Linked DNA regions of Homo sapiens: regions 1, 2, 3, 4, 5 and 6 are each linked to region 7. The links are contacts of gene promoters, found by promoter capture Hi-C in blood cells and fetal thymus (Javierre and others, 2016). All regions are on one chromosome and are shown on one strand. Each heading gives the region's core, a stretch centred on a gene start or on the middle of the fragment in contact. The rest is flanking DNA. Distances are from core to core; before and after follow the strand shown.

Region 1 (4,103 bases), core at 136-2,635, 1.2 Mb after region 7:
TATAAATAAATTCCACAAAAGTTATCCAAGAGGAGATATAACCCAGTTTTCCACTGTCTTAGAATTAAATGAGGTTCTAGAACTGGCAAAAAGTCAAGTCAATCAACTGGGCTGTTAATAAATGTAACTTAGCCCTAAGCTTGCTCTTAGAAGATGTAAGACTTTTTAAGTTAAAAAAAAATCAGTTTATACAAAGCAATTACAGAATAATAATATGATAATCTAAGGGTATAAACTATTAACTTTCTTTGCTTTCGTAGTTTTCAACATCTTTTAGTTATGCCGAACCATGTGGTTATTTAAGGAATACAGTAAGGGTATGTCATTTCTGCAAAAATACCTGCTTTTAACTACAAAAAAACAAAAATAAATTCTAGATATGAATACTCTTCAATTCTAAGACTAAACCACTTAAGAGATCACTATTTTTTAAAACGCTTTAGACTATACTGATGGAAGCAAAAAGTGCTGTTAAAAGTTTACAGCAGGCTGGGAGTGGTGGCTCACACCTGTAATCCTAGCACTTTGGGAGGCTGAGGCAGGTGGATCACTTGAGGTCAGGAATTCGAGAACAGCCTGGCCAACATGATGAAATCCCATCTCTACTAAAAGACAAAAATTAGCCAGGCATGGTGGCGTGTGCCTGTATTCTCAACTACTGAGGAGGCTGAAGCACAAGAATCTCTGGAACCCAGGAGGTGAGGTGGCAGTGAGCCAAGATCCTGCCACTGAACTCCAGCCTGGGCAACAGAGCAAGACCTGTCAAAAAAAAAAAAAAAATTTACAATAAAAACTAAATGACTGGCTGGGCACTGTGGCTCATGCCTGTACTCCTAGCACTTTGGGAGGGCGAGACGGGAGGATCGCTTCAGCTCAGGAGTTTGAGACTAGCCTACGCAACATAGTGAAACCCTCATCACTACAAAAAAATACAAAAATTAGCTGGGTATGGTGGTGCACACCTGTGGTCCCAGCTACTTGGTAGGCTGAGGTGGGGGGATCACTTGACCCTGGGAGACAGAGGTTACAGTGAGCTAATACCGCACCACTGCACTCCGGCCTGGGTGACAGAGTGAGACACTGTCTCGAAAAATAAATCACATATTGGGACAATTCGCTGTCCACGTGGGAAAGGATGAGTCTGAACTCCTACCTCACATCATCCAGGAAACCTGCATAAACCATACAAGGAAAAAAATGAACTACATCAAAATTAAAACTTTCTGCCCTTCAATAGGTACCACTGAAGCCGTGCATGGTGGTGCAAGCCTGTAATCCCAGCTACTCAGGAGGATCACTTGAGACCAGTCTGGGCAACACAGAAAGACCTCATCTCAAAAGGTGCCTGTGGGGGTGGGGGTGGGGGTGGGTGGGAGGTGATTGCACTACTGAGAGAATGAAAAAACTCACAGAATGGGAGAAATTATCTGCCAATCATATATGAGACTTATACACAAATATATAAAGAACTCTTACAACTTAGTAAGAAAATGTAATTTTTAAATGAGCGAAGTATTTATACAGTTATTTCTCTCCTAAGAGGATAAATGGCCAATAAGCACATAAAAAGATACTCAACACTATTAGTCATTAGGGAAATCATACTTCACACCCACTAGAATGACTGTAATCAAAGATAGATGGTACCATGTGTTGGTAAGAATGTGGAGAAACTAGAACCTTCTATATTGCTGATAAGGAAGTAAAATGACATAGTCATTTTGGAAAATAGTTTGTCAGTTTCTAAAAATGTGAAACACAACTATCATATGTCCCAGCAATTCAACTCCTAGGTATCTATCCAACAGAAATAAAAACATATCCACACAAGAACTTATATATGAATGTTCACAGCAGCATTATCCAAAACAGTCAAAAAGTAGATTGGACTAGAGCCTACTGTTAAAAAAAAAAAAAAAAGAGGTGGAAACAACTAATATTCATCAACTGATGAACAAAAAAGCAGTATAGTCATATAGTGTACTATTCAGCAATAAAAAGGAACAAAGTACTGACGTGCTTACAATGCAAATAAAACTTGAAAATATTATACTTAGTGAAAGAAGCTAGACATCAAAAATCACATACTATATTATTCCACTTATATAAGATACATACACAAGGCAAATCTATAGAAAGAATAGTAGCTGCCTAGGACAGAGTGCAAATGAAAAGTAAATGCGAGTGAACAAAGGGCTACTTTGAATATATTAAAAACCATCTGTATATCATAATGGGTGAAATTTATGGCGTAAGTTGTATTCCAATAAACCTGTTAAATCACGTAAAAACTCTATAATATTGAAATCTCGAATACAGAAAATGCTGAGCAAAAAGTACAAACAAATACTAGCCTGTGTTCTGCCTCAAGTGAACTTGAAAGAACATCAGTTTGTGGGAAGGTTGAAGACCGAATGATCTGCTGGGAAATCACTGAGGCATTGCCATTCTCTTGAGGAATTTCATTTTCATCGAAGTTTCGGTTTATATCCCTTTCTTGGTGAGTACTATTGCTGTTATGTAAATTAAATGAGTCGTCATCCTGATTTTTAGAGAGTTAAAAAAAAAAAAAAGAATGAGTTCTACAGAATACAGTTATTAAAAACTTTTAATAGATCCTAACTAAGCTTCCATTGAAAATACATAAATGCGGCCAGGCGCAGTGGCTCACCCCTGTAATCCCAGCACTTTGGAAGGCCAAGGCGGGTGGATCATCTGAGGTCAGGAGTTTGCGACGAGCCTGGCCAAAATGGTGAAACCCCATCTCTACTAAAAATACAAAAAAATTAGCTGGGCGTGGTGATACACGCCTGTAGTCCTAGCTGCTTGGGAGGCTGTGGCAGGAGAATTGCTTGAACCTAGGAGGTGGAGGTTGCAGTGAGCCAAGATCATGCCATTGTACACTATACTCCAGACAAGAGCAAAACTCTAAAAAAAAAAAAAAAAACCAACAACCATAAACGTAATACTTATAATTGTTAAATTTAGGAATGAAAAATTAAGCCAGGATGGATATCCAAAGCTTTCTTACCCTAAGTATTCATATCTATACAACAAATGCAAAATTAAAAGCATGAAGGCAGGCAAGATGGGACAAGCAAAAGAGAGCAGATATAAACAAGAATGCTTTTTAAATGTATTTTTCCACAGAAACTATAGAATGAAGCAAATCTACTTTAGAAATGAAGTCATGGCCAGGTACAGTGGCTCACGCCTGTAATCCCAACACTTTGGGAGGCCAAGGCAGGCGGATCACCTGAAGTCAGGAGTTCAAGACCAGTCTGGCCAACGTGGTGAAACCCCGTCTCTACAAAAAATGAAAAAATTAGCCAAACGTACAAAAAACACAAAAATTAGCCAGGTGTGGTGGCACATAAATATAGTCCCAGCTACCAGGAAGGCTGAGGAACAAGAATTGCTTGAACCTGGGAAGTGGAGTCTGCTGCAGCCCAAGATGATGCCCTTACACTCCGCTTGGGTGATAGAGTGAGACTTTGTCTCAAACGAGGAGGAGGGGGAGGGGGAAGGGGGAAGGAGGGGAGGGGGAAGGGGGAAAGGGGAAGGAGGGAAGGGGGAAAGGGGAAGGAGGGAAGGGGGAAAGGGGAAGGAGGGAAGGGGGAAAGGGGAAGGAGGGAAGGGGGAAAGGGGAAGGAGGGAAGGGGAGGGGGAAGGACGGGAAGGGGAGGGGGAAGGACGGGGAGGGGGGAAGGAGGGGAAGGGGAGAGGGGAAGGGGGAGGGGGAAGGGGGGAGGCGAGAAAAGGAGAGAGGAGGGGAGAAGCCAAGTCATTATTTATGCAAATGGCTTTCCAAGTTTCTTTCCAAGGAAATGATTCAAATGTATTCCAAGGTCCTAATACATGCTCAAATATTTCAATGACATATCAATGTCAAATCAAGTATTGCTATAAATTCAATTACCTTCTCTGAGCCAGCACGGCTTTCATCTTCATGTTCCTCTTCTACTCTGTCTCTTTTCAATGCTTTCAAAAATTCACTCTTCTTATCAGTGCGCATTCGTGTCAGTTTGGTTAGACGAGGCTGCTGATTAAGTTTGTCAACAGGAGAAGAGGAATTTGAGCGATTACACTAAGAGGAAATTCAG
Region 2 (3,867 bases), core at 25-2,524, 1.3 Mb after region 7:
AGAGTCCAGAAAAAATATGTATTAGAGCTAATTAAATTCAGGAACGCTGCCAAGATAGAAGATCAACACACAAAAACAGCTGTTTGTGTATACACTATTAACAATCCAAAAAAGAAATTAGGAAAACAACTCAATTCGCAGTAAAATCCAAAAGCATAAAATACCTATAATAAATAAATATAACCAAGAAAATGTTAAGACTTGCACACCAAAAACTATTAAGACAGTGCTGAAAGAAATGTTAAAAGACCTAAACAGAAAGACATCCCTGGCCCAGCACAGTGGCTCAAGCCTGTAATCCCAGCACTTTGGGAGGCCCAGGCAGGTGGATCACATGAGGTCAAGAGTTTGAGACCAGGCTGGCCAACATGGTGAAACCCCATCTCTGCTAAAATAAAGTATTAGCTGGGCATGGAGGCAGGCACCTGTAATCCCAGCTACTTGGAAGGCTGAGGTAGGAGAATCGCTTGAACCCAGGAGGCAGAGGTTGCAGTGAGCCGAGATCACGCCATTGCACTCCAGCCTGGACGACGGGGTGAGACTCTGTCTCAAAAAAAAAAAAAAAAAAAGAAAAACAAAAGACAGATATCCCTGTGTTTGAGGACTGGGAAACTCAACACTGTTAAGACAACAACACTACCCAAACATGATCTACAGATTCAACGTAATCTCTATTAAAATTCCAACACCCGGCCAGGCTACAGTGGTTCACGCCTATAATCCCAGCACTGTGGGAGGACAAGGTGAGCAGATCACTTGAGCTCAGTGGCTCAGGACCAGCCTGGGCAACATGGTGAACCCCGTCCCTACTAAAAATAAAAAAATCAGCCAGGCATGGTGGCTCGTACCTGTGGTCCCAGCTACTTGGGACACTGAGGCGGAAGGATTGCTTGAGCCCGGGAAGTGGAGGTTGCAGTGAGCCAAGATCACACCACTGCACTCCAGCCTGAGCAACAAAATGAGACTCTATTGATATGGAGGGAGGCAAGGAAGTGCTGGGAAGAAAAGGGCATGGTCCCTGGCTAGGGCTCCAATCCCCTGAGAAAGAGTAAGACCCTACTGATACAGAAGTGTGCAGGCAAGCGCTGGGAAGGGAAGGGCATGGTCCCTCGCGAGGGCTCCATCCCCGGTTCTGTGCCCACGGATCTAGGTGAGGACAGGCATTTCTGTTTTCCTGACCAAATGATGCATTTCCCAAGACCACTCTGCCAGTCACACCCCCATCGTGTGCCTATAAAACCCTCAGAGACTCTAGTAGGCAGAGACACAAGTGGCTGGACGTCATCGAGAGGGACATATCGGCGGAAGAACACACAAATAGCTGGATGTCCAGGGAAGCATGCCAGTGGAATACCACACTGACAGAAAGCAGGCTGGCAGGCCATCGACCAAAGAAGGGCATGAAGTTTGGCTGGGTTTGGCTGGTGCGGTCAGAGGAGAGCCCAGGTCACTGAGCTGCAGGACTCCAGGGGAAAACACCCTCCCACTCCATCTCCCTCCTGGCTTCCCATCCATCTGCTGGAAACTTCCACTCAATAAAACCTTGCACTCGTTCTCCAAGCCCACGTGTGATCTGATTCTTCCCATACACCAAGGCAAAAAAGCCCTCTGTCCTTGCGATAAGGCAGGGCATCTAACTGAGCTAACACAAGCCGCCTATGGATGGCTAGACTAAAAGGGCACCCTGTAACACATGCCCACTGGGGCTTCAGGAGCTGTAAACATTCACCCCTAGGTGCTGCCGTGGGGTCGGAGTCCCACAGCCTGCCCTGTCTGCATGCTCTCCCTAGAGATTTGAGCAGTGGGGTGCCAAAGAAGCAAGGCACACCCCCATCACATGCCCTGCAAAGGGGATAAGAGAACCTTTCACTAAGTTTCACTATTTCAAAAAAGAAAAAAAATCCAACACTCTCTTTTGTACAGAAATAAAAAAGGCTATTCTCAATTTCCTTTGGAAGTGCGAGGGGCCCTAAACATCCAAAAACAATTCAGAAAAAGAATAAAGTTACAGAACTCACACTTCCCTATTTCAAAACTTACTGTAAAGTAACAGTGAGCTGGCCATTTGTAGATCTTCTTAGGAAAAATATTCAAGTCCTTTGCCCATTTTGATTATTTTTCGAGACAAAGTCTCACTCTATCACCCAGGCTGGAGTACAGTGGCACTACCATGACTCAATGCAGCCTCCACCACCTGGGTGCAAACGACCCTACCACCTCATCCTCCCAAGTGGCTGGGAATATAGGCATGCCCCACCACACCAAGCTAATTTTAAAAATATTTTTCGTAGAGATGGGGTCTACGTTGCCCAGGTTGGTCTCAAACTCCTGGAATCAAGCAATCCTCGCACCTTGGCCATAGTGATCAAAACTGTAGTATGGCCTAAGAACAGACATATAAACCAGAAATAAGCCCACACATTTATATCCAAGTTATTTTCAACAAGAGTGCTAAGATGATTCAATACGGAATTGTCTTTTCAAAAAAACAGACTGGACAACTAAATAGCCATTGGACCCCCCTACCCAAACCATATACAAAAATAAACTCAGCTGGGTGCAGTAGCTCACGCCTGTAATTCCAGCACTTTGGGAGGCCAAGGCAGGTGGATCGCTTGAGGTCAGGAGTCCGAGACCAGCCTGGCCAACATGGCAAAACCCAACATGGCATCGTTGTAGGTGCCTGTAATCCCAGTTACTTGGGAGGCTGAGGCAGGACAATAGCTTGAACCCAGGAGGCAGAGGTGGCAGTGAGCCGGGATCGCGCTACTACACTCCAGCCTGGGCAACAGAGCAAGATTCTGTCTCAAAAATAAATAAATAAAATAAACTCAAAATAAATCACAGACCTAAATATAAAAGCAAAAACTATAAAACTCTTAGAAGAAAACAGGGAGATAAAGCTTCCTGACCTTGGATTTGGCAATGAATTCTTAAATATGACACCAAAACCAAGAGTAACAATTAAAAAAAGAAAACAAAAACTGAACTTCATGAAAATTTAAAACATGTGCAAAAAATATTATCTATAAAGTAAAAAGACAACTGACAGAAGAAAATATATGCACCTCATATCTAATAAGGTCTAGTATCCAGAATATATAAAGAACTCTTACAACTCAACAACAAACAGACAACTCAATTTTAAAATGTACAAAGGGCCAAATGCAATGGCTTGTGCCTGTAATCCCAGCACTCTAGGAGGCCAAGGCAGGAGGATCACTTGACCCAGGAGTTTGAGACTAACCTGGGCAACACAGTGAGTCCCTATCTCTACAAAAAAATGTTTAAAACTTAGCCAGGTGTGGTGAGGCACACCTGTATTCCCAGCCACTCAGGAGGCTGAGGTGGGAGGATCGCCTGTGACCAGGAGGTGGGTACTGCAGTGAGCCTTGATAGTGCCAGTGCACTATAGCCTGAGTAGCAGAACAAGATCCTGTCTCAAAAAATATATAAATAAAATAAATAATAAAATAAAAATGGGCAAAGCACTTGAATATTTTCCCAAGAAGATAAACAACTGGCCAATAACCACATAAAATATACTCAGTATCATTAGGGAAATGCAAATCAAAACCACAATGAAATACTACTTCGCTCCCACTAGAATGGCTATAATCAAAATATGAAAAAAAAAAAAAAGAGGAAATAAATGTTAGCAAAGATGTGGAAAAACCAGAACCCTTATATATTGCTGGTGTGAAGGTAAAAGGGTTCAACAACTGTAGAAGTTTGGCAATTCCTTAAAAAGTCAAACACGCAATTACCACATGACTCAGAAATACCATTGCTAGGTATATACACAGAAGAATTGAGAAAGGATGCTCAAATTGTTGTACACCAGTGTTCAAAACAGCACTATTCACA
Region 3 (3,740 bases), core at 1,192-3,691, 1.2 Mb after region 7:
AGGACTAATAGGATAGTTGTATATATGAAAGAGAGCTTATTAAGGAATATTGACTCACACAATCACAAGATCAAGTCCCACAATAGGCTGTCTGCAAGCTGGGGAGCAAGGAAGCCAGTCCAAGTCCCAAAACCTCAAAACTAGGGAAGCTGACAGTGCAGCCTTCACTGTGTGGCCCAAGGCCCAAGAGCCCCTGGCAAACCACTGATGTAAGTCAAACAGTCCAAAAGTTGAAGAACTTGGAGTCCGACGTTCGAGGGCAGGAAGCATCCAGCATTGGAGAAAGATGAAGACTGGAAGACTCTGCCAGTCTAGTCCTTCCACATTCTTCCTGCTTTAATCTAGCCACGCTGGCAGCTGATTAGATTGTGGCCACCCAGACTGAGAGTGGGCCTGCCTCTCCCGGTCCACTGACTCAAATGTTCATCTCCTTTGGCATAGACACAGCCAGGAACAATACTTTGCATCCTTTAATCCAGTCAAGTTGACACTCAATATTAACCATCACAGGCAGTTACAAATGTGATCCCGTAAAAGAATATGGAGCATGGTGATCTACTTGCTTCAAATCAGATCCAGAGATGCACTTCTGGGCTCACTTCCAGGCTCACTTCTTCATTTTACAAATGAGGAAACAGAGGTTACATGGTCTGTTCAAGGCCACACAGCTCATGGCTAAATGACACCATAACCCAATACTCTGGGCTCTGATGGCACCTCAGCAGCACTTACCAGAAAGCATCACGTGGTACCAAGGCCCATATGAGTCCTAGCTGATATATATATCTCCCGGGTACTAATTCCCAGAGTCAGCAGAGGAAATAGGCTTAGGTGATTTAGAATAAAATATCTAGCCAAACAAAATTTAGCCTTTGCCTATATGGAACGTCCCTCAGGACAGTGCAAGGTCACCCCTGTGAACACGCTTACTTGAATAGGACCCCTAGAGTTCTCCTATCACCTGGAGGGCAGGAGGAGGTCTTGGCAGAATCTGTATTAACTTAGAGACTGATACGGTTTGGCAGTGTCACCACCCAAATCTCATCTTGAATTATAGCTTCCATAATTCCCACATGTTGTGGGAGGGACCCAGTGGGAGATAATTGGATCATGGGGACAGTTTCCCCCGTGCTGTTCTCGCGGTAGTGACTAAGTCTCGGGAGATATGTTGGTTTTATAAGAGGAAATCCCTTTTGCTTGATTCTCTTTTCTCTCTTGTGTGCCTTTCACCTTCCGCCATGATTGTGAGGCCTCCCCAGCCACGTGGAACTGTGAGTCCATTAAACCTCTTTTTCTTTATAAATTACCCACTCTCGGATATGTCTTTATAAGCAGTGTGAAAACAGACTAATACAGAGACCCAGCGGGTGGAGACCTCCAGCTCCTCATCCCTCAAGATACAGGAAGTGAGCTGTTCAGGCCGCCTGTTCCCCGACGAGGTGCGTGGTTTTGGAGATTAATGTTAGCGGTCTTTGTGGGAGGCACTAGGAGGGCTCCCTTTAAGAAGCCCAGAGTGCGGAAACACTGATTGTGACATGTGAATGTGCTCCATGAGAAGATGGCAGGTATCGGAACGTGTGGAGGAAACTGAAAAGTAAAGACCGCCTAAAGATTGAAACTACCATTCAGGTAAAAGCAGCCTGACAGCAGACATCCCTTTTTAGAGGATGTTTAACAAACACATCACGTGTTCAGGAAAACAATCTTTCGGCCTTACTAAATTTTGTGCAGACGCTCCTCCGAACAGTGGTTTGCTGCCCCCTAGTGTTCGTTTTTTATTAAAAAAGTTTAACACACCCTGATTAGTCTCTTTCCTTTTCTTCTCAGCCTCTCCAAAGAGAATCATCTCTTGACTGTCACTGCAATAGCCAAATTAAACCACAAATTATGTGAAATTAAAAGCATGGGTGTTTTTATCAACACAGAGCCCCTGTATGACAGTTGTTTAGAACAGAAACATGCTCTTTTTGCCTCTCCTCCAGCCACCACCCACTCCACTACCATGATCAGTAAGGTGGGAAGGAATCCAAAGGGCCATAGGACAAAGCCAGAACCACAAAAGTCACCCTTTCTGTCCCTCCAGCAGGGACTTTTTAAGGAGAGGGCAACTCCCTATCTGAGGGAAGCCATTAGCTATCCCGGAGGTTTCCAAACTGGTTACTGGGGGAACAGTGTCTAAAACACATAGTTCTGAGTCTTAGCCCCAGCGCTGTCTTTTAAAACATTTTATGTTTTTATATACAAAAAGCCTTCTTGTATTCTTTGTATTTGCATTTTAACAATGTGCATATGTCATTCCATATATACGTTAAAATTACTTATTTAAGAAAATGACTGCTATGGCATTTCTTGTTGGACACCAAATTTAAACATTTTTTATATGCTGCACTATTAGGCAAAGGTGATACCGATGCTTTCTCTGACGCCAGGGAGTTTCCAAACCGTGGAAAGCTCTTTGGCCCCCTCTGCTGGTGAGTGATACACTTGTAAAAGAATATCAAAGTCCACTACTGGTGCCTTAGCCAAGAACCTCACCTAAGCTGACAAACATTTGTTGAGGAGTTTCATTTCTGTGAAAGATCCCATTAAGCTCTCCGGGTGTGTTCTACATTCACTGCCTAAGTCAGAGGAAGAGCCATTTCCACTTCATGTTTCTGTAAATTCTAAAGGCCTTTTCTTTCTTCAGCCAATATTTTCATATGCTCAACCAAAATCTTTTCTGAAACTCAGAGATGCCTTTCTCTCATGCTGGAACTATAAATAAAACACCAAATACAGGTTGAGCATCCTTTAGTCGAAATTCTTGGGACTGCTTGGGACCAGAAGTATTTGGCATTTCAAAACGTTTTGGGTTTTGGAATTCTTACATTACACTAGCTAAGCATCCCCAGTAGGAAAATCTGAAATGCCCCAAGGAGCATTTATTTTATGCTGGCCAGCATTCAAAAAGTTTTAGATTTTGGGCCTTTTGGATTTCAGATTTTGAGACTAGGCATACTCAATATGTAGTAAATTTGTAACTTTTTCTTGCTTATCAGGTAAGTTCCAGGGGACAGAAACAAGCTCTCTGAAGACTCTCATTAATCTTTGCTGTCCGAAGCTACCTTCTCCATCTCCTGCTCACCTGGGAGGACTCCCTGGAGGAAGCCAGGAAAGGTGAAAATCCATGTATCTCTTCACATTTGGAGAACAAAGGGAATTCAAGAACAATTTTATGGATTTTCTTTGTTTTTTATTAATTAAGACATGCCTGTTTTAAATTAGACAATAATTTTTTAAATATCCTTCAGATTATAAAATGTAAATTGTCATGGCCTCTTTTAAAGGCAATTCTACAGAATATACTGTAGTCTCTTTTTTTTTTTTTTTTTTTAAGTTTTTTGTAGAAGTGAACTCTCACTATGTTGCCCAGGCTCATCACAAACTCCTGGCCTTAGCAATCCTCCTGCCTCGCCCTCCTAAAGTGCCGGGATTACAGGCGAGAGACACCACACTGGGCCTGAATCTACTTTAAAAATATTTTTCAAATGTCATACACTATTACCCAGCAATTTTACTAGTGGTGTCTCTCCTAGAGAAACATAAACATGCGTTCAAGGAGGCTTGTACACGAGTGGCCCCTGTGGCACTGTTTCTAATAGCTAAAAAATAGAAAGAGTCTTAACTGCCCGTCAGTAGAGGAATGGCTAAATAGATGGTTATTTGCTAAGGCATCCTATGCAGCAATTAAAAAGGGATTA
Region 4 (3,839 bases), core at 228-2,727, 1.2 Mb after region 7:
AAATGGCAAAAGCACCTATTCAAAAAGAAGTATTTTGTTTTTCTGGACACAAATTTTCAGGTACTGAGAATGTGCCTAGCTATACAGAAAATCCAAGGCTTGTCTTCCCTGGACTTAGTTATATATGGAAACAGATGTAGATAAAATAGAGGATGTTTCTTGAGGCAGGACCACACTTTTTACATCTTTGGGTCTCTTCATCCACCAGCACTACATTTTGTTTATAGTAATTGCTCAATAATTACTCAATTAATTTTCAGTATAAATTACTTTGGACAGGGAATAGAGAATAGGCTTATTAAAAGAGATAGAAATTACTTATTAGAACCTCATCTTTATTTGTGAGGTCTAAAATTATGTGACAGCGTATTACTCAGGGACTGCCGTAGGCAATTTCTCTACTTCAGGTCAGATCCTTGTTCAACCTTTCCCCCATCCCAACATGCCAGGAAGTTTGCCTCTTTCATTACTAACATATACTCCTCTAGATGACTTGTCACTTAAAGTGACACCTGAAGTATTCACAAGTTTTCCCTCCTCCCTTACCCTGCAGTTTTAAGCAATCATATATATGGATCTTAGTGTTACTTAAGGACTGATATTCCAGTTTTAACATCTTTGATGGCTCCCCACTGCTTGCAGGATAAAATCAAAATTTGGTCAAAATGGTAGAGGGTCCTTCATGACCTGGCTCCTGCTGTGTCACCAGCCTCATTTCCCTTTCCTCCCCTTACACCTATACTGAACTCCAAAAGGTTTCCTGAACCCAATGGGCTATAGCGTGCCTATTGTTAATCAATCATTGAAACGATGACATCCTCTGGAAAGCTTTCCCTGAGCTGTCCTACTATGCTCTATGCTCTGTACACAGCACATACTGAAAAACTCATTTGCAGTAGTCTGTCCTACAAGGTTGTGATCAATTTCAGCACAAGGGTTATCTTTATTCTTTGTACCCTCAGTACAAGGCCTAGCCTAGCAGGCCCTTATTTACTGACTTTGTTGCTTTAATTTGGTAAAAGGAGAAAGATTCATACAATCTAAAGAGAAGGCAGAATATTGTTTTAATCTAGAAAGTTGCAGTTACAGAAATATTTGCTACCAAAGAAATCATTGATCACATTTTAATGTAACTAGTGAAGGCCTTCTCTATTTACTCATCATCATGGATCAGATCCCTTCTCATGGAGGTTGGACTGACTGGGCTATTTGAACTTTGTTTAGCCCTGCCTCTAGCTAGGTCTAGGAGGGTTCTCAGTGCTTCCTGCAGCAACTTGTTCTTTATTCTTTTCTATGGATTTAGATATCATGTGGTACCTCTGGAGTGGTTTCACTGGCTGAGGACAATTTCCTAATTCCTAGATTTCAGGTCCAGTACGCTGACTTCACATCTTTGCCCCATCACAGAAATCTTTCCTTCATCCCCACCCTAGAATTTGAGTATTGCCCTCTGTGCCTAGTTGTTAGTCTGAAGCATGTGTTACTGATAAGATACTAACTTCATCACCTATGGCTTTCTATCTGCGCTATTATGTCTCACCAGCATCTACTCAACTTTAGTACAAACCCCAAAATTATGGCAACCTGATGCCTTATCACGGCAACTTCAATACCAAACCTTGACCTCTTGTTTCAAAGCTCTTATCCTGTTTTATTATTTCCTGTTGCTGATAAAGTGATGCCTCTAGTTCTCAATTCATGTTCATAACAAAGTGATGAAATGCTCTTCGCCAACGTCTCCACTTTGGAGAAAAATAAGCTATAATTTCCACCAAAGGCAGGCAAGGGTCTTCTGTTAAAATAAATGGTCCTTATTGTTGTTGGCACAATCCAATCGAGGAAAAAAGACAGTTTTTATCCTCATAAATACTCAAAGCAGAGAATGCTGGCAGAGTGACAGAAGAAATTACCTCACTTTTGGAGGAGAAAGGGAAGCAGGTCTATCCTTTGAAAACTATCTCCATGTTTCACAAGTTTTCCCACTTTCTCTGTAAAAGTCTCTATATTGCACTGATAAATTTGTACTTCTTTCCTTGTGATTTAGGACACACTATATTTTATCCTGTGTGGACACATTACAATCATGTTTTACAAACGGGAAACAATTGTCTTAAAAGTTAAGCTTCCTTACATTCAGAATGTCTGTATTAAAAGAAAAAAAAAAGTTAGGCTTTCAAATATTGCCCCAGAACTGGGCAGGACAGGGGGAAGCATTTTGCAAGACTGAAAAATCACACAGGTAATGGTATAAAGATCAAATATGACAACCCAACTTTCACTTTCCTTGAGTTTCCAAAGGCCTAGTTTTTAATGTTTATAATGAGGATCAGCAAACTACTGTCCCTACCCAGCTTGTTTTATTGGAAAAGACACACCTACCTGTTTACTGTCTGCGGCTGCATTGGTACTATTAATTGAGTAATTGGAACAAAAATCACATGGTCCAAAATATTTACCATCTAGCCCTTTACAGAAAAAGTTTGCCAACATTCGGTTTAGAAAATAATCTTCAAAAAAGAAATTTCAGACATCTTAATAGATGGCATGAGTCTCTATGTCTCTATGTGGGGATACAGAATTGCCTAGACTCACTTTCTCAGTAGCCAGGTTCTTCTCATTCTGTCAAATGACTCACTCTAATAGTCAATAAACCAAAATAACTTTTCAAAAGCTAAACAATGTCAGGACATTAAGTCCAAATTTGAGGGAGAAAATATCTCTTCACCTCACCAAGTCAACTTCTCGTAACGCAACTGTACCTGCTTATTACAGTATACAGATTGACATTTCATTGTTTTCCCTTCTGCTAGTTTTTGCTTCTCTCCAGCCATTAAAGAAAATCACATTAGGGTCGGGCGGAGTAGCTCACGTCTGTAATCTTAGCATTTTGGGAGGCTGAGGTGGACAGATCACTTGAGGCCAGGAGTTCGAGACCAGCCTGGCCAACATGGCAATACCCCCATTTCTATTAAAAATACAAAAATTAGCCAGGTGTGGTGGCACATGCCTGTAATCCCAGCTACTCGGGAGGCTGAGGAGTAAGAATCACCTGAACCCGGGAGGCGGAGATTGCAGTGAGCCACGTTCATGCCACTGTGCTCCATCCTGAGCAACAGAGTGAAACTGTCTCAAAAAAAAAAAAAAATTCAAATGGCATTAAGGCTACAACAAAATTATATTCCCTAGTGAGGAAAGGTACATTCTGGCATCTAAGTAAAAATTACATACATAATAATACACAAAAGCTGACACAAACATACAATCTCATTTTCTCAAGATATTAATGTCTACCAGACAACTAGTTTTAGCATATCAAGTGCCCAATTTTAAAAAGGTTAAGTAACTGAAGTAAGGCAAAAGAGTTATATACTCTTGCCAGACACGGTGGCTCATGCCTGTAATCCCAGCATTTTTGGATGCTGAGACAGGAGAATTGCTTGAGCCCAGGACCGTTTGAGACCAGCCTGGGCAATGTAGCAAGACCCTGTCTCTTTAATAAAATTAAAAAGTGAGGGGAAAAAGTTATATACTGTTGTCACAATTCTCCAGCCCATTATCTTTGTTCACCTTTAGCATTCCAGAAAATGAGGGAAAACCTTGAGAGAAATGGAGTATGAGTATCAAGTTAAACTCTTGCCTAATAATGTGCTTAACTACCTTATTTCCACAAAAAGCATAAAGTGATGAGACTAGCAAAGGCAATTCTATTTTGAAAGATTTGAAAGCATGGAAACCCATTCTTGCAATTAGTTCACAGGACTATAATTTACCATTAAAGTTCAATGATTACATTTCAGATCTCTGATAAAACTCATTTTAACAGCTGAATAAAATCAAGC
Region 5 (3,747 bases), core at 383-2,882, 1.2 Mb after region 7:
GATCACTTGAGTCCAGGAGTTCAAGACCAGCCTGGACAACATAGTGTGACCCCGACTTTACAAAAAAAAAAAAAGATTAAAGAATAAAACGAAATAAATACAATGGGCTGACTCTGTACACGTGAGCTGCAGCATGGCAGCCCACCACTCCAGCCCACTCAAGATGCAGAATAAAGCTCATAAAAGTGGGCAGCATCGGGGTCGGGGATCTGCACAGCAGGATGGCAAGGGCCATCTAGCACTGAAAACCCTAAGCAAGAAGGTGAGAAAAGAACTCAGCAGAGTAGACCAGAGGCATTCCGCCAGTCAGCTCCAAAAGCAGAAGAAGGAGGTGGTTCTGGCGGAGAAGAGACAGCTGGGTAGCAAGGATGGCTCTCCTCATTAGCACTAGCTGTCCAGGGATTATCTGGCCTCCCACTGAAGAAACAAATAGATGCCAGAAAGAAGCTAAGTAAAGCAGTGGAGAAGCACTTTCTGGATGACAAACTCCTCTTGTTAGACACTCAACAGGAGGCAGGGATGCTGCTTAGGCAGTTGGCTAACCAGAAGCAATGGCATCTTGCTTTTCGAGATCAGCAGGCCTACCTATTTGCCCATACTGCTGATTTTGTTCCTAGTGAAGAGAATAATTTGGTGGGCACCTTGGAAATTTCAGGCTATGTTCGTGGGCAGACTCTGAATGTAAATAGGTTGCTGCATATCACTGGACGTGGTGATTTCCAGATGAAACACATAGATGACCCCATGGACCCTTTCCCTTTAAATCCTACAGTAATTAAATCCCAAAAGGACCCAGACATGGCAATAGAGATTTGTGCTATGGATACTGTCGATGATATGGAAGAAGACCTTAAAGTCCTAATGAAGGCAGATCCTGCTAGACAGGAATCCTGACAAACAGAGGTTATCCCAGATCTAACGCAGGGGGAGCAAACCTGGCCCAATGAGGAGGAGTTGAGTGAGACAAAGGATTTCTTGAAGGGAGATTCTAAGGTGGTAAAGAATATGATGATACAGAACATGAGGATTTTATGAAGGAGGAATCTCAGCATGAAAGTGTGAAGATGAAGAAGAGGAGGAATGTGAAACTATGACTACAAGGGAGTCTGTGCATGATGATCTCTCTGATGAGAAAGTGGATGAAGAAGCTGAGGCAAAAATGTTGGAGAAATGTAAACAAGAAAGACTGGAAGAGATGTTTCCAGGTGAAGTGGGTGGACACCCCCTGTGATGTGGCTGCCAGAAATTCAGTTTCAGAAATACAAAGGCCTCAAGAGCTTCCAGACATCTCCATAGGATCCTAAGGAAAAATATTGCTCAAGATTGTGCTTGAATATTTCAGTTTCAGAACTTTACTAGTACTAGGAAAAGCATATTTAAAGAGATTGAAGAAAAAGAGGTTGAAGGAGCTGATGTTGGCCAGTATGTCACACTTCATGTCTCTAATGTCCCTGTCTCAGTGGTTGAGTGATTCAGGCAAGGAGCACCCTTGATTGCATTTTCTTCACTACCTCATGAACAGAAGATGTCAGTATTGAATATGGTGGTGAGGCATGACCCTGGCAGCACTGAATCTGCGAAAGCCAAGGAGGAGCTCATATTCCGCTGTAGATCCAGGCACTTCCGAGCCTCACCTTTATTCTCTCAGCATGCTGCAGCAGACAAACATAAATTTCAGAGATTCCTGACTGCTGATATGGCCCTGGCGGTGACAGTATACGCACCAACCACTTTTCCTCCTTCATCTTTGCTGCTTTTCAAGCAGAAAAGCAATGGAATGCACAATCTCATTGCTACAGGCCATCTTTTGCTGGTGGATCCAAACAGAATGGTCATCAAGAGAGTTGTCCTGAGTGATCCTCCTTTCAAAATTTGTACTAAGATGGCAGTGGTATGTTACATGTTCTTCAATAGAGAGGATGTGCAGTGGTTTAAACCAGTAGAACTGAGAACAAAGTGGAGCCGCAGAGGACACATCCAGGAGCCTTCAGGTACCCATGGCCGCATGAAGTGCAGCTTTGATAGGAAGCTAAAATCTCAGAACACAGAACTGATGAACCTTTACAAATGAGTTTTCCCCAAATGGACTTATGATCCAAGTGTACCAGAACCAGCACCTTGGGTGAACAGTGAGATTTCTTCAACAGTGCCTCAGGTGGGCATGGAGTAATGGATTTAAAGCGATTCTGTCTTACTGAGGCCAGTCAGCACTCCAAGGATGGGAGTCACAAGTTGTGATTGGGCAAAGTTTATTTTCTATGTCAGCTTGTCAGTCGGCTGCACCATTTTGCAAGAATTTTTTTGGCCTTGATAAAATGTCTCAGTTAAGTATGGAAGTTTTTCTACTGCTTAATCCAAAAAGCTATTAAATCTTACTGAAATAAAAATAAATGCATAAATACAATGCATTATTAATAACTGTGGTCACCATGCTGTACAATAGATCGCTAAAGGATATTCCTCCAGGGTCATTGAAACTTTGTACCCTTTGACCACATTTCCTTTCAACTTAGTCACTGACTTGCTGATGTTCGGCTTTGACAGAAATGCGTTTCCAGAATGCCTTTCCATTCCTCCCTCAGAGCAGGGAGGGCAGTTAGGCTTGCTTCTTTCACTTTTAAGTTGATTCTTTCCTCTGAGGGATGGAGTCTGTCATCCTTACATTCATCATCCGCTGGGGTAGCACTCCAAAGTCACCCTCACCATTTGGCAAATCCACCATTTGGCAAATCCAGCTTCTGTCAGATGTGCCCACATGTTTGTTTCTTCTCCACAAATGGAAGAACTACGGTGATTACTGCTGCTCACTAAATTAAACTTAACAATCTAGTTTATTCCAGCAGGTTCCTGGTAAACAGCACTGCAGCTGAAAAGGCTTATCCTGTTTATGTTAACATGAAATATCCTGGGTTGAGGCTCCCAGAGCAGGGCAGAGGCTGCCCTCCCTGAATGTCAGCTGTTTGAAGGGCTTTCTGTTTTGACAAATGGTGTTTAGATAAGAAAGCCACTGTTGATGTGATGTTTTGTATCAACTTTGAGCTTTTGACGTAGATGGAGGTTGTTCTATTTCAGTATATGCCAGGCCTTCTTAAAGAGGAGAATCATCACTCTATGTAATGGCTGGAAGTCCCCCATTGGCTAACCCTCCATACACAGCGTGACCTTCTTGAGCTGCTGTCTCTGCATCAGGTTTCTCAAGCTCAGCACTATTACCACAAGACTGAGTCATGCTTTGTTGTGGGCCGTCCAGTGTATTGTAGGATGTTTAGCAGCAAACTGACCTCTACCCACTAAATGCCAGTAGCACCCTCCCACAAGTCCTGACAACCAAAACTGCCTACAGACATTGCCAAATGTCCTCTGGGGAGGGGACAAAACCACCTCCGACCCACCCACCTGCATTGAGAACCACTACTCAAAGTTAAAAAGAACATTCTTTTTATGAAGGCCAGGAAGGGACAGGACCATTTGTAGAACATTCGGGAACTCTCAAAGCATCCTCAGATTGGTCTCTTCTTTCATTCATGTCCACAGGGAATCTGACTGGTCCAGCTTATTGAAACTAGAAAACCAAATATTTAAAAGACATTATGAGAAAAATTAAAGTCATCCAATGAGTATTCAGTAAGTGTTCTTTATGTGCCCCCAACGTGGTCTGCTCTCTAGATTCTTTAAAAGCTTTCTGTCCCATCACCCTTAAAAAGGAGGGAGGCCAGTCACGGTGGCTCATGTCTGTAATCCCAACAC
Region 6 (3,876 bases), core at 1-2,500, 1.6 Mb after region 7:
AAAATAATTTTGTGCTGCAGGACCTAAAATATTGCATAAAAAGGAGGAGAAAATGATCTCTGCTAGTCTTTGTATGAATTAGCAAAAGGCACCTTTTCCTTTGGCCACTTTACTGCCATCGACTGTAAAAAAATGTAATAAATATACAAATCTATTAGGACTATACTGTGCAGCATGCTCCATATAGGTATGTAGTACACCAGCTAGTTTTGGCAGTCTTGGGAATCGACTGGAAGGTTCTGTGGCAGCACTTCTTGACTGCTCTGAGAACAAAAAGTTTGAAAACCACTGGTGTGAGGGAAGGTGCAGAGGTGGGGTGGAACACAATGGATTCAGAGAGCAGGAATGTAACGAAAGGAGTAGAACAGAAATTTTGTATTACGGATAGTAGGAAATAAAGATTTAGGCAGAATAAGGTCAGACCATTAAAAAACATGGACATTTGAGGTAGTCAGCAGTAGATAGTCATTGAATGTTCTAGTAGCAGAGTACTAGCTGGAAATAGAGTTTGAAAAGCTCAGAGGAACAGTAGTTGGCAGGATGCATGGATGGATAGATGCATGGATGGATATGGATGGATGGATGGACAGATGGATGGATGGATGGATGGATGGATGGATGGATGGATGGATGGATGGTTGGATGGATGGATGGATGGATGAATGGATGGATGACCCAGCCAGCTGAGAGTAGAGTGGTTCTGAGAACAAGAGACCAGGAAAGGGCATCAAGTATCTTGCTACAGCCTCTCCTTTTGTTGTAGACTGTTAGGAGCGGGTAGAGGGACTAGGAATACCCTGTTATGCAATAGATAAGCATAGAATCTAGGTTTTAGAATGGAAAAATGCAACTCTTAGTGATAGTTTTGAGTTTTTTTCAGTATTCTAAGGGGGAACACTGAGATTTCTGCTCTATTCCTGAGGAAGGGGTGAGATAACCTTTGATTTTCAGATATCTGGCAGGCAGTGCAAATTAAAAGTTTTACTCTGCTGCCCTCTTCTGGAGGTTGCATAATTGCCCAAATAATTCTTCCACGTTGTTCCCTTCACTTTTGCTCCTAGACAGACTTCTGGACAAAGTAGGCTATGCACATCATCTCCATGACCATGCTTGCCCAGCTATGATCATGTTTCCTTCTAGTCGGCTTCACTGGAATGGTCCTTGCCATTCACCTTGTGAGACTTAAGTTCTTATCTTACCTGACGTCTGTGGCTTTTGAAATTACTGACCTTTCTTTAAAACATTCTCCTCTCTTGATTTCCCTGACCCTGTGCGTTTCTAGTTTCTGAAGATGAGCTCTTGTCTCCTTTATCTATTCTGCTTCTTGTCTATGCCTTAAATCTTGGTCTTCATCGGGGTTCTGGTCTTGGTTTTTCCTCACTGAACATATTCTCCTGAGTATTCTCCCCCGTTTCCCTTGTGACTCATTGTGGTAGATGCTGTAGAGTTGCCTGCTTGATGTCCATTCTTCTCAGACTTCCTTATAGCTAGGGAGTTCTAGTCAAATGAAATGTGAGTGAAAATCTCGTAAGCATTTTAAGGAAAGTTTCTGTCTTCCTGACACAGGCACTACCTTTTTATTCTCCTTTTTCTTTCCCTGATTGTAGATTGGAGATCAGAGTTGGAGCCTGAGGGTGAAAGCCTCATGCTGAGAAGAGTGGAGCGGGAAGATAAAGCATGGCAACATTGATGACACCCTAGGCCTAATACACCAGCCCTGACCTGCTTACCTTCTCTCATTTGTAGGCTATGTAGTCCAGTCACTTTTACGTGCAGCTGAGTACAACCCTAAATGATATATCAATCGCTTCAGTGACCATTTATATGTCAATAGCTTGCACATTTATTATTTGCAACCAAAGTATCTCTGGAGGTACTCATGTGCATATACAGTATTACTGGAAACTTCTACTTGGATATCCTCCAGGCAACTCGAATATTTTAACATGGCCAAAGCACATCTTGTCCTCCAACCTACTCCCCCTGTGATTTCCTTGTATCAGTAATGGCACCAGCGTTCACACAGGTGACCAAGCCTGGATAGCAGACGCATCCTCGATGTCATTCTCCATCCTCCGCATACCCTTCCCCCAAGATCATTTCTACAATCTTTCAATTCTGCTGTTTAATATCGCTCAGATTTGTCTCTTCCTCCTCATTCCCATGATGCTACCTTCACCTAGGTTCTGGATACTGCAATTGCCTTCTGACTTTCTCTCTGCCTTTTGTACTGGCCCATGTAATTCTTTCTTCAAGGTACTGCAAGGGTGCTCTTTCTAACGCACAAATATCGTCATGCCACTCTCTGCCAAAGATTTTTCAATATCTCCCCATCTTTTTATTTCTCCTCCTATCCTTTCTCTCCATTTCACCCTAGTTACAACCCTCATCCTCTCAGTATGTCTACATAGATGTTGAGAAATCTTATTAAGTAAATTGACCTTAAGGGAAGCTATCACTTAGTTATCTCAAAAATAAACTCTAACAGGAATCTCAGCATTGTGGGAAAAAGAATTTTGGGGCATGAAGGATTTATCCCTTGCCACATCAGCTTAGGCTGGTTTTACCTCTACAGATGTAATAAGTTACAACCTAGGGCCATGAGGCATGGGGTATAGAGATGTCAGGTTGCATACCAACTAATGAGACTGGCTTCAGTCATCGATGGAGTTCTTTTGGTAACGGACTGTGCAGACAGTTATCTATTGCAAAATAAGACCTACAAAGTTAACTCTAACATCGACAACATATTTGAATGCTACATATGCATATTAATATTTTGTAACATGATACTTGAGCTGTAGTGGTAAGCATTTCACATTAGTGTGTGTAGTTAAGACATTAATTTTCTCTTCAGAGGTAAGCTGTCTAGCATCTATAATCAGCATCTCCACTTTTGTTCATCTCACATCTTGGAAGACAAAAGTCTTGGCCGGGAATGGTGGCTCATGCCTATAACCCCAGCACTTTGGGAGGCTGAGGCGGGCAGATCACGACGTCAGGAGATCGAGACCATCCTGGCCAACATGGTGAAACCCCGTCTCTACTAAAAATACAAAAAAATTAGCTGGATGTGGTGGCACGTGCCTGTAATCCCACTACTTGGGAGGCCGAGGCAGGAAAATCACTTAAATCAGGGAGTTGGAGGTTGCAGTGAGCCGAGATCACACCACTGCACTCCAGCCTGGTCACAGAGTGAGATTCTGTCTCAAAAAAAAAAAAAAAAAAAAAAAAAAAAAAAGACAAAAGTCTTAGATCCAATTTCCCAAAGCTGAGATTCTCGTCTAATTTTCTACCTTTTTTGTTTTCTAAGCCTGGGCACAGATCAGAGGTCAAAAGGTAGTCAGCCACAGGACAGTAGTCTAGCCCAAATAATTTTTATAGTTCTTAATAAGGATTTAAATTAGTTTTTAATGTTTAAACATCAGGGAATTGCACCTAAAATCCAGATTTCCAGCTTCTCTTGAAAATTTAGAGGATTTGACAATACTGGGCTTTCATTCTGACATGGTAACTATGACCTCCCTTGTACATGAACTTGACGCAAACTCTTAGGTCCGCCACAAGCCTTGCTGGGGATCTAGTCCCATGGGTGGTTTGAGTCTGTGACCTTTGGGTCATTCATTCATAAAAACACATCTTGTGCATTCACTACATGCCAGATACTATTCTAGGCCATTTATATAGGCTCTCACTTCTCACGACACTGTCACTTTCATTTTATAGATGCAGAAATGGAGGTTCAGAAAGTCAAAATGGGGGTCACGTAGCAGGTAAGTGGCAGAACCAGATTTAACCCAGGTTGTATCTCAGGTCCTGTAGTCACTGCATCCGTCGTTACCTACTTTAAGAGGCCCGTCCTTTCCTTTTTAATCA
Region 7 (4,150 bases), core at 1,512-4,011:
GTAGAAAACTCAAGAAAAAGAAGGTTGAATGATCTGCCATCCAGAAACCTGCTATAAATTAAAAATATGTTAATTGCATACTTATTATCTAACATAGAAAAATTACTGATTTTCACCAATGCATTAAACACCAGCATATAGTGAGCTTCTGCTTTTAATATAAAATATACTACCCGTTGTGATGAAAGGAAAAAGAGTTAGAAAAATCCTGTCCCTGCCCAACCCTGAGTGGTTTTATCACTTAGATCTCCACATAGTTTTTGACAATTAGGATAACAATTTTTGAGTGAAAGATAATGTTCTGAGCACAATAGAAAAAAAGGGACATATACAGACACGTGCAATCATCTTTATTACCTGTCACCTCTTCTGTGAAGCCCTGCTTATCCTTTTTTGGAGCAGTCAGAGGCCATGTCTTTTTCTTAACCATTCCTTCCTCTGTAATCCCATATTAATGAGTCCATTCTCTATTATAGCGTGATAACCTAAATGAGAGAGAATTGTATTCTTACTTGGTTAAATGGTGGGCAGGGTTCAGGTCATTTCATCTGTATGTTCCCAGAGAATGGCACAACACCTAGCACAGAAAATGCATCCAATCAATATTTATTGAATGAAATAATGCATTTAAAAATGACTGCAAATGTCAGCATCTAATTGCTTAAGATGATAGTTTAAAACTCAAGGGTGTAGTTTATACTTAAAACATGAAATGAGATCTTTAAAGTAAACCAATGTATTTTCAAAATCCTTAGTATCACAGGTTTTCTCATAGCTTTCAGAAAATAACTTCCATGCAAGATGATTTTACATTGTTTTCTGTTGATGCTTTAAAATGGCAAGGAGACAAGAAGGGGAAGTGTTCAACTGGGCTGCATGTTCCATTGTGATTTTATCAACAAAACATTATTACTGTATATTTTCAGTCTAGACATAGACATAGATCCAACAGTGCCTGTGAAATGATTATTATCATCTATGGAATGTTATTATCATCAATAATGTTTAGTTAAGAGTTTCAGCTTTTAAAAACTGTTACAGGGATTATCTCATTTAATCCTATAGCTGCTATATGTAGTGGGTACTATTCATATCACCATTTTATAGATAAGAAGAGAGGCTTAAAGAAGTTAAGTAACTTCCTTACAACCAAAATGTGACTGAATGAGAATTCAGGTAAAAATTTCCCCAAAATATTATTTATCCAAATATCTGTAACATGCTACTAAGTGCATCAGTCAGAAAATTTGTATAGCTTGATTAGCTCTGAGGTTCTCGAAGGTTGGAAATCATATATTATTTACCTTTGTATTACCAACACCAGCATTAGACACAGAATGACTAATCTATTAGACATTTGTTAATGAATGAAGTAATCTCCTTATGGGATAATAATAGTAACAATGAGAAGAAAAATAGAAATTCACAAAGTGGTGCTCTGCTTTCAGTGAGTTTTCATGAAAAGTTTAATGGTAATGAACGTTCATAAATTTGTCCAAGGTTAGAATATATTAATATGCAAATATTTAATTTGACATTTCATAAAAGAAAATTAAATAAGATGTGCAGCTAATTTATACAATTTTTTGATAAAAATACAGGGACAAGCACCCCAGATGCAGAAACATTTTAATCTCCTTGGAATTTTTGGGAGTAATATTGAGGTTGAGAACTGTATGGTCCGCCACATAAGATTTACAATCTGCAGGGTCCCTCCTTTATAAGGCCAGCCGTGCTTGTGTTCAAGGACAAAAGTTTAGCCAAATGACTTTAATCATTAGGACCTCATTTCCTGTCTGAAACAGATGAGCACCAATTATCTGCAAGATATTTTATGGTATACATGGTTAATGATTTAAGAAGTTATTTGCCAGAATATTTGAAATAAATTTACAAAATACACTTTAAGTATTGATTGAAATTAATCAACTTTTTGAAAGATACTAGGCCTGCAACAGAAGTCACGGTGAGGGTTGAGGAAGGCTAACTATTGTCACTTCTGTAGCTGAGGATAAGGCAATAAATTACTCTCTTAATTTTTAAGAAGAAAAGGCATTTTTACCATCTATGTTATTCTATGTAGAGTAGAAATTCTGGTACATCCAAAATATTAAAATTGTTTGTCTAAGAGATATTTACCAAGATAAAGACAAGAAGACTTTTTACAGAAAAAGAAATGCATCATTTTCTTCGAAATAACATTAGAGGAAAAAACCTGTGAGACATGAACAAAGACCTACTATAATGAAAAACATATTTTAAACAATAACCATTCAAATATAGTTTAACACTTAAATAATGTTCACTTTGACCAGTTTGAAAGAAGACTCTGTTTTCATTTTGGAAAGCAGTTCCAACAGGTTACCTAACAATTTGACATTTTTCTTAAAATCGCAAATTGTTGAGAAACTTCAGGAATTTTCAAGTAAGAGAATGCCCTGCTGTTTGGAAACAAGGTAACAGCAAAGCATAATCATATTGTAAAGAAACATTAACATCACTCTCAGTTTGTAAATTGGGTTTCCCCCTTACAGCTACGTAAGGCATTTTTTTCTAAAAACTGTAGTAAGATAAAAATCATTGATTAATTAAAGACAAACTTGTTTCTTATAGTGTTTAATCATCCAAATACCTTAAATCAGGTTCTTACTTACCTCAAGATTGGTGTGTCAAGCTCTCTCTTTTGTTCTTTTGGTTATGTTTTAAACCTGCATTGGGTTAGAACTTGTTCCTCTTTTTCACTTTGGTGGGTTACTTCCTTCTTTCCCTCCTTCGTTCACGCTATTTAATACTTGCAAAGTTTCCTGGCTCTAGAGGAAGTCAGTATCAGATGCAGCAGAATTAAGATAAATGGCGTGAGGTTTTGAATAAGGAAGTCTGGCCCTTCATCTTTGTCAAGTAATAGTTTTTTAACTGTGTCAGAAAATAATACGTAAAGCCTACATGGTTTTTTATTTGGGCCATATTTGCAGTTCCCACTTTAATATCAATAAAAGTCACTTCACTTGTACTTTGATTTTTTAAAAAAAGAAATATTTTAATTGTAGTAACACATAGGTCTTGGGCTTTTATTATTATTATTATTATTTACTTGTGTTGCTAGACCAGTCCTCTCTTCAAATATTAATATTATGTACCAATGCTCCCAAGTTATAGCCATACAGGTCAAATCAGTGTCCCAATTTGGGTTTGGAAAATGTTAACGTTCTTTTAAATTTATAAATAGGAATTTCCTAAGGTATGTTTTGAGGCCCATTACCCCTGAGATATGCTAGCAGCTCTTCCATCAAGTAAATGTGGGGAATACTGCTTCCCTGGAGATTCATGGGTACATCAGCATGCTAAAGGCTCTCAGCAGTCTTACAGCCAGCAAACAAAATAAAACCAAATAAGAAAAAGAAATTGTTTAACTTTGCTTAATAATAGTAGTCAGTATGTTCCTAGCACTAAGTACTCCAAACCTTTTGTGTAATACTCAGCAAATCTTGGCAACAACCCTGTGAGGGAGAAAAACTGTTATTAGTCCTATTTTACAGAAGAGGAAACAGAAGCACACAGAATGATCACTTGCCCGACAGAGCCTGCAGTTTGCCCCCAGCACCTGTGTGCTAAACCACTGCACTGGCTGCCTTGCTAGATTGAGTAACATGTTTCCCACATAGATACGCTTACCAAGAGCATCTCTTGGAGTCCAACTCATGGGAACACACACAGTGGGAGATGCTGAATTAGACAAATTACAGATGAATTCGACAGATGAGATGACAAAGTAATGGAAAATTTGTCTTTTAAGTTGTCTTGGAACTTTTTGAACCACAGAGGATTAACTTTGCATAAGGTGGTTTTAAAAAAGAGGATTTAGTTACTGAAATAACTACTGGACATTGGAAGGACAGGACGTATTATTAACACTTGCTGAGCACTGACATTATGCCAGGCATTGTGCTAAGAGATGAGGATGCAAGAGTGAATAAGCTCCCTGCAGCACTTAAAGCCAAGTAGAGAGGCTGCTGCGCCCACAGAACATTTCAGATCAAAGTGATAATGCCTAAGAAAGACAGGATTATGGACAGGGACAGTGGAGGTAAAGGAAAGAGGCATCCAGCTCAGAGGGTGGTCAGGGAAGGCAAGACCTGAGCTAAGCCTCATA

What was found. The method cuts DNA at HindIII sites, captures the fragments that hold promoters and counts their contacts. A CHiCAGO score of 5 or more calls a contact.
Region 1: a fragment that was not itself captured here is called in contact with the fragment with the promoter of GAPT in region 7 in 1 of 17 cell types (neutrophils); the score reaches 5.5 in neutrophils.
Region 2: a contact is called between a fragment that was not itself captured here and the fragment with the promoter of GAPT in region 7, in 1 of 17 cell types (neutrophils). The highest score is 5.6, in neutrophils.
Region 3: a fragment that was not itself captured here is called in contact with the fragment with the promoter of GAPT in region 7 in 9 of 17 cell types (neutrophils, monocytes, M2 macrophages and 6 more); the score reaches 17.6 in neutrophils.
Region 4: a fragment that was not itself captured here is called in contact with the fragment with the promoter of GAPT in region 7 in 5 of 17 cell types (total CD4 T cells, M0 macrophages, neutrophils and 2 more); the score reaches 6.7 in total CD4 T cells.
Region 5: a fragment that was not itself captured here is called in contact with the fragment with the promoter of GAPT in region 7 in 6 of 17 cell types (naive CD8 T cells, total CD4 T cells, naive CD4 T cells and 3 more); the score reaches 7.8 in naive CD8 T cells.
Region 6: a fragment that was not itself captured here is called in contact with the fragment with the promoter of GAPT in region 7 in 1 of 17 cell types (neutrophils); the score reaches 5.2 in neutrophils.

The regions. Positions count from the first base shown.
Region 1 is chr5:57,249,393-57,253,495 of GRCh38, reverse strand. GPBP1 (GC-rich promoter binding protein 1) reads right to left here. Exons shown (of 12, transcript NM_022913.4): 9 at 3,920-4,087; 10 at 2,355-2,542. Among named protein-coding and RNA genes, the nearest start is that of GPBP1, 77 kb to the right of the region's middle. The HindIII fragment of the contact is 2,488 bases long and covers 142-2,629 here.
Region 2 is chr5:57,205,358-57,209,224 of GRCh38, reverse strand. All of the region lies in intron 2 of GPBP1 (GC-rich promoter binding protein 1), which reads right to left. Among named protein-coding and RNA genes, the nearest start is that of GPBP1, 33 kb to the right of the region's middle. The HindIII fragment of the contact is 3,262 bases long and covers 1-2,905 here.
Region 3 is chr5:57,297,114-57,300,853 of GRCh38, reverse strand. It overlaps LOC107986381 (a long non-coding RNA gene), which reads left to right. Exons shown (of 2, transcript XR_001742513.2): 1 at 1-1,629; 2 at 3,039-3,740. Among named protein-coding and RNA genes, the nearest start is that of RMEL3, 96 kb to the left of the region's middle. The HindIII fragment of the contact is 8,863 bases long and covers 1-3,740 here.
Region 4 is chr5:57,268,046-57,271,884 of GRCh38, reverse strand. No RefSeq gene overlaps it. Among named protein-coding and RNA genes, the nearest start is that of GPBP1, 96 kb to the right of the region's middle. The HindIII fragment of the contact is 1,294 bases long and covers 831-2,124 here.
Region 5 is chr5:57,316,407-57,320,153 of GRCh38, reverse strand. It overlaps the pseudogene LOC100288510. Among named protein-coding and RNA genes, the nearest start is that of RMEL3, 77 kb to the left of the region's middle. The HindIII fragment of the contact is 4,097 bases long and covers 1-3,680 here.
Region 6 is chr5:56,898,147-56,902,022 of GRCh38, reverse strand. LOC105378980 (a long non-coding RNA gene) reads left to right here and starts at 1,957. Exons shown (of 3, transcript XR_948347.4): 1 at 1,957-2,026; 2 at 3,727-3,773. RefSeq lists an enhancer at 2,119-2,288. The HindIII fragment of the contact is 7,054 bases long and covers 1-3,876 here.
Region 7 is chr5:58,490,046-58,494,195 of GRCh38, reverse strand. It overlaps GAPT (GRB2 binding adaptor protein, transmembrane), which reads right to left and starts at 2,761. Exons shown (of 3, transcript NM_001304431.2): 1 at 2,655-2,761; 2 at 358-485. The HindIII fragment of the contact is 6,945 bases long and covers 1-4,150 here.